Regions from separate parts of the Homo sapiens genome. Here region 2 is linked to region 1. Evidence: promoter capture Hi-C in 16 types of primary human blood cells and fetal thymus (Javierre and others, 2016). All regions are on one chromosome and are shown on one strand. The core of a region is centred on a gene start or on the middle of the fragment in contact, and the rest is flanking DNA. Distances in the headings are between cores, read along the strand shown. Region 1 holds the start of IPO8 (importin 8). Region 2 overlaps GOLT1B (golgi transport 1B).

What was found. Contacts are between HindIII fragments. The CHiCAGO score rates a contact against its expected background, and 5 or more counts as called.
Region 2: a fragment that was not itself captured here is called in contact with the fragment with the promoter of IPO8 in region 1 in 1 of 17 cell types (total B cells); the score reaches 6.5 in total B cells.

The regions. Positions count from the first base shown.
Region 1 is chr12:30,694,486-30,697,413 of GRCh38, forward strand. IPO8 (importin 8) reads right to left here and starts at 1,384. Exons shown (of 25, transcript NM_006390.4): 1 at 1,079-1,384. The coding sequence starts at 1,162. RefSeq lists a silencer at 1,134-1,183 and an enhancer at 1,274-1,773. The HindIII fragment of the contact is 4,530 bases long and covers 1-2,928 here.
Region 2 is chr12:21,507,505-21,510,432 of GRCh38, forward strand. GOLT1B (golgi transport 1B) reads left to right here. Exons shown (of 5, transcript NM_016072.5): 3 at 879-1,057. Among named protein-coding and RNA genes, the nearest start is that of GOLT1B, 7.2 kb to the left of the region's middle. The HindIII fragment of the contact is 2,804 bases long and covers 156-2,928 here.

The DNA of each region.
Region 1 (2,928 bases), core at 134-2,633:
TCCAACAGAAACATTTACTTAGGACAGTCACACTTCAGTCACACTTCGGGAGGCACAGAATCACCTGGGGGAGCTAGTTAAAATACAACTGGTCCCACCCCCACAGTTTCTGATTCGTTAAGTCTGGACTGAAGCCCCGTAATTTGCATAATTTGTAAGTTCTCAGGTGATGCTGAAGCTCCAGGTCCTGGGCAACGCTTTGAGAACAGCTGATTTTGGAATATTTACATTTTACAAGTCATCACAACCTAAAACAGCTGTTGCTCCATCCCAGTGGTAGCTCTTAATCCCTACTTTTTAGTAAGAGGTCTGTGATTCTTAAGTACCGGTAGGGAAGAAGAAATAAGCTGGAGTTTGGGATCATTAAAATTTTGAAGTGTGGGGGTAACGCTGGAAAGACGTCAAGGCTAATTAGGAAGAACAGGAGACGGAGAAAAGAAAGAAGTCTTACACATTTTAGCATTCATAAGAAATTTCTCCAACACATCTTACTTTGATGTGTCTTAGATAAAGCAGTATCACCATGAAAACTGCCTATTCTTCCCAGAGCACTCTCCCAACAGCACTGCCCAGCGCTCCGCAAAACTCGGCCAATCGGTGTCAAAACAGTCCTGCCAACCCGACAGGAGGAGGCGGTGGGCAGCGTGCTCCACAGCAACACCTAAAAAGGGCTGGGTTTGGAAAAAAGCTGAACTCAGATTTGAACTGTAAGTAAAATTCCCACCTGCTCCCCAAGTCCGCGCACTTAAGGAAAATAAATCACACCCTGAAAACACTAGCACAGGTTGCAAAAACTGCTTCTTGCGGACCAAGTAGGCAGAACAAACTGCCCTGGAGAAGGGAGACGACACGAAAAGGTGCAAAGGTGGCCAACAGGTGCGCGAGCTGTTCGGCAAAGATCCTGGGAGCCCTGCTCCACTGGACCGGGGGGCAGCGGGGTCGGAGAGCGGGACCAGCCGTGAGGCGTCAGCCCCAGCCCGGTGGGGGTGAGGACGAGGGGCGCCGGGGAGAGGGAGCCCGGCCAGCCGGCAGGGGCGCCCCTTCGGCGGAAGAGGGTCGCCGAAGACCCTCTCCTCACCTGGTTGAGCTCGTTCTCGGCTGCAATCCGCAACTTCGGGTCGATGGTGCCCTTCAGCGCCTGGATGATCCGGTTGAGGTCCATCTCCCCGGGTGGGGGCTCCGCGGCCCCCGGAACAGTAGGCCGGACTGCAGCTTTAGTTTTCTTTTGACCCTCTCAGCCTCCTCTTCCGCGACCCCTGGATTACCTCACACCCCACCCCCCGCCACCGTCGCCACCTGCGGCCACTTGCTGCGCCACTCTGACTCCGCGCCCCCTGTCCTCCCTTTTTCCCCCCCACAACTCGCTCTCCATTCACCGTTTTACGACAGCCGGTGGGAGGCGGGAGAAGGAAGAAGAGGAAGCAGAGCTTCCTTTACGGCGGCCTCTTCCCCCGGGCGTGATGCTATGACCGCCTCCCGTCGGCGGCCGCCATGCTGCTGTACGGAAAACGGCCTAGGCTTCTTTCCCGGAAAGGAACCCGCGCTCCCGAACTCAGGCAGGCGGCCGCTATGCTTCCGTACGGTAAACAGCCTCCCGCCTCTTCCCAGGTGAGGAAACTTGAGCTGGCCGGGAGTCTGCTTACAGCTGCTTCCAAATTAAGCATATCTGGATGGTGTGACACTTTTTGTTAGTCCGAGAACTGTATGGGCATCGCAACTGGGCCTGTTCCAAGATAGACTTGTTGGGACCTTCAAATCATGTACCTTACAGGAGGACAGGGTTCCTCCGTGTGTGGGAGTCATCGTTCATTCATTCATTCGCTTTCACTGAACATTTGTTAAACATATATTTTTGAACCAGAGTACTAGGATTTTTAGGTACCACATTATAACAAGATGAATTCCATGCAAGTTAATGTGAAGGAATTCACAACCTGATAGATGAGACAAATATAAACAAAAAAAATTTACAGTGTAGAAATGATAGGGGAGTGCTGGGAAGGGAAGAGCGTGGTCCCTTTAAATGATAGGGATGGGCGAAGTGAAGTGCTGGGTAGAGGAGTGTGTGGTCCCTTGCTAGGGCTCCACGCCCACCGACCTAGGTGAGGACTGACACTCCTGCCTTCCAGCCCAAATGTTGCATTTCCCAAGACCACCCTGGCCTGCCACTCCCCCATACTGTGCCTATGAAAACCCCAGACCCTAGCAGGCAGGTACACAGGCAGCCAGACGTCCAGAGGAGCATAAGGGTGGAAGAAGAGGAGCTCGCTGGCACATCCGCAGGCCATTCACGGGCAGAACGATGCGGAGGTTGGCCTGGGCAGTCGGAAAAGAGCCCGGGCCGCCAAGCGGCCTAACTCCAGAGGAAAACCATTTCCCTTCTGGGTCCCTCATCTGCTGAGGGCTACTTCCACTCAATAAAACTTTGCACTCATTCTCCAAGCCCACGTGTGATCCAATTCTTCTGGTACACCAAGGCAAGAACCCAGGATACAGAAAGCTCGCTGTCTGTGCGACAAGGTAGAGGGTCTAATTGAGCTGGTTAACACAAGCCCCCTAAAGGCAAACTGAAAGAGCATCCTGTAACACACACCCACTGGGGCTTCAGGAGCTGTAAACATTCACCCCCAGACTCTGTCAAGGGGTCGGAGCCCCACAGCCTGCCGGTCTGTATGCTTCTCTAGAGGTCTGAGCAGCGGGGCACTGAAGAAGCGAGCCACACCCCCAATGCACGCCCTGTGAGGGGGACAAGGGAACCTCTCCCATTTCAGAAAGACAAAGGTCACAGAAACTGAAAACTACATCCCTGAGAGTTTTATGAAAAATTTTCAGACCTTCTCAAAAATGTAGTGAAAGGTAAGCAGAAAAGTTATACTGTTTCTATCCACTGTGGCCATATCTGGCGCCACAATTTCAATGGCATGAAAA
Region 2 (2,928 bases), core at 308-2,807, 9.2 Mb before region 1:
AGACACTGTATGTGTGTGTGTGTGTATATATATATATACACACACACATATATATTTGGGCTTTTAACTGGAAATGGGAAAAGATAAAGAATAGCAAAATTGTTCAAAATTGATGTCTTAATAAATGATAATAGCATTAGTATCCTAGAATATGAAGCTTAACCATTAGGCTTAATATGTATTTGTGCGAAATATTTTTCACTAAAGAATGTTAATGGGGAGGGCAAGTATTTGGAAAGAAAACCTGGGGAAAGCAAGCTCTTAATCCATCACCATTTCTTGTCCACAGAATACATTCAAAATATTTGAAAACACATGGTTGTATTTTTATTTCTGCTGCCACCAGATATTCTAGAATTTATAAAACTAGAATCTTCTTGGCTTCACGTTGTTTCTTCTGCTATCAACTTAGCCATGTCAATATTTCTCCCATCCATAGAAACTCCTGTAGCCTATGATGAATATTTCAGAACCAAGAGGAATACCCTTGGGTGACATATTTATGGGCAGCTTTCCTCTTTATGCCTTGCCAACTCATCTGCTTGACTAAGCCTTCCTCATCCAGCTAAAACTAGGAAAACTACTGCAGACACAGATGCCCCTTGGTAACGTCTAATCTTTCTTTGTTTCTCTTTTTCTCCATTTAATCAAGATAGAAGAGGAATGAGACAAGTGGAACAAAGCTACAACTTTAAAATGCATAACCCACTCCTTGGTTCTGCTGCTTGGTTGTACATTACAGTTCTGTCTGGCCAGTTGCCCACATTAAAAGCCAAACAAATGTGCTTCTTTTTTTATATTTAGCTTTGACTTTACGTTTAAAATTTATGCATTGTGTTTAATTACCTTTTCCGTGTTGTATTTTCTTTCTCTTTTAGGTTTTATTTGTAGCCGGCTTGGCTTTTGTAATTGGTTTAGAAAGAACATTCAGATTCTTCTTCCAAAAACATAAAATGAAAGCTACAGGTTTTTTTCTGGGTGGTGTATTTGTAGTCCTTATTGGTTGGCCTTTGATAGGCATGATCTTCGAAATTTATGGATTTTTTCTCTTGTTCAGGTAAGGCATATTATTGTCTCTTTCAGTAAATCAGTGTGTCAGATAGTTAGTACAAAAACTCAGATATTTGCATCAGTTGGAGTAAGATGATGATCATTTCCTTAAATGGAATTTTATTTAGGTTGAATCTTATAGATTTAGATGAAGCAACTATAAAAATGTTTTATCACATGTGAATGATTGCCTAATGGTATAAATTATCTTGTTTTGTCAGCACAATAAAGTTTATTTTATTGGCATTTTAAGGCACCATCTTTATGTTGGATATTTGTATCAACTAAATAGTGGTAGGTAGGTCGGTCGATCGATCAATCGGTAGGTAGGTAGGTAGATAGATAGATAGATAGATAGATAGATAGATCCAGCATTTTGGTGTGTAGAATCTTATACTTCATAGCTACTGCTACTTGATGGAAATTTATTTAGCACATATACGTATTAGAAGATTGTTTACCAAATACACTACTATGGGAGATTTTGAGCAGGTAATATTTTGTAAATGCCAGTTAGCAGATAAACAATAGTATGTGTATATATCTATATGAAAATACCTTTGGCCAGGTGCGGTGGCTCACACCTGTAATCCCAGCACTTTGGGAGGCCGAGGTGGGCGGATCACCTGAGGTCAGGAGGTCAAGACCAGCCTGGCCAGCATGATGAAACCCCGTCTCTACTAAAAATTCAAAAATTAGCTGGCCATGCTGGCAGGCGCCTGTAATCCTAGCTACTCGGGAGGCTGAGGCAGGCGAATTGTTTGAACCTGGGAGGCGGAAGTTGCAGTGAGCCGATCACACCATTGCACTCCAGCCTAGGCAATAGAGCGAGACTCTGTCTCAAAAAAAAAAAAAAAAAAAAAAAAAAAACAGAAAAGAAAATAACTTTAAGTAGGGTTGAGCTTAATTATTTATTCCAGAAATGCATATCCTTTGTCTTCTGTCTGCCAGGCACTGTATTACCCACAGGAGACATAAAAATAAATTAAGTACCAAATCTGCTTTAGAAAATCTCTCATTTCTATTATGGAAAGTAGACTCTAAAAATACCAATAGGATATAGTCATAATGCCATTATAAATGTGTATGCAGAATATTGTGGAAGCATGATTAAAAAATTAGTAAATTCAAGGAGAGGTGAGAAATGTTAACTGATAAACTGGGCTTTGAAGAATGGGTAAGAATTTATCCTATAAACGAGAAAGGGAACGACAGTTAACAGAAGGAACAGACAGGGCCATAAAAACACACAGCTTGTTCTGAAAAGAATGAATACTCTTATAGAACAGGAGCATGTGATCAGTTGAAGGAAATGGTTGGTAATGAAACTGAAAATGAAGCCTGGAGCCAGGTTACAAACTTTCTTTGATGACTTGTTGAGAAAAGTATACCTTATCCTGTAACCAAATTTGGGCTGGGGGAGCAGTGTTTGGAGAAGGTCGGGGGAGTGGGGCACAGAGGTTTTTAAGCCAGAGGTGGTACAACAGGGTAGATGTTTTAGGAAGGTTGTTCTGATATCAGGATAAAGTAGGTATTAAAGAGAAAAACTGAAGTCAGGGGAGCCAGTCAAGAGGCGGTTAATACAGTACAGAATATACAGTGATAAGACTGGAATCTTGGAGTACTTTTGACATTTTAGGGTAGGTGGAGAAAAAGAAGAAAACACTAGAAGAGACTAGGAAAAGAGGTGGGAGAAGAACTAGGAGTAAAGATCATAGTGGCTAAGAGAGAAAAGAGTGAAGAAGAGTTTGTTTTGGCAGATGTATCTTGCAGCAGAAAACTTAAGCACCTTAAGAAGTAAGAAAATCATTGGCTTTCCCAGTTATGTGGGGGTTTTAGTAATGAAGGTTAAAAGCCAAAGCTGATCTTTGAGATGAA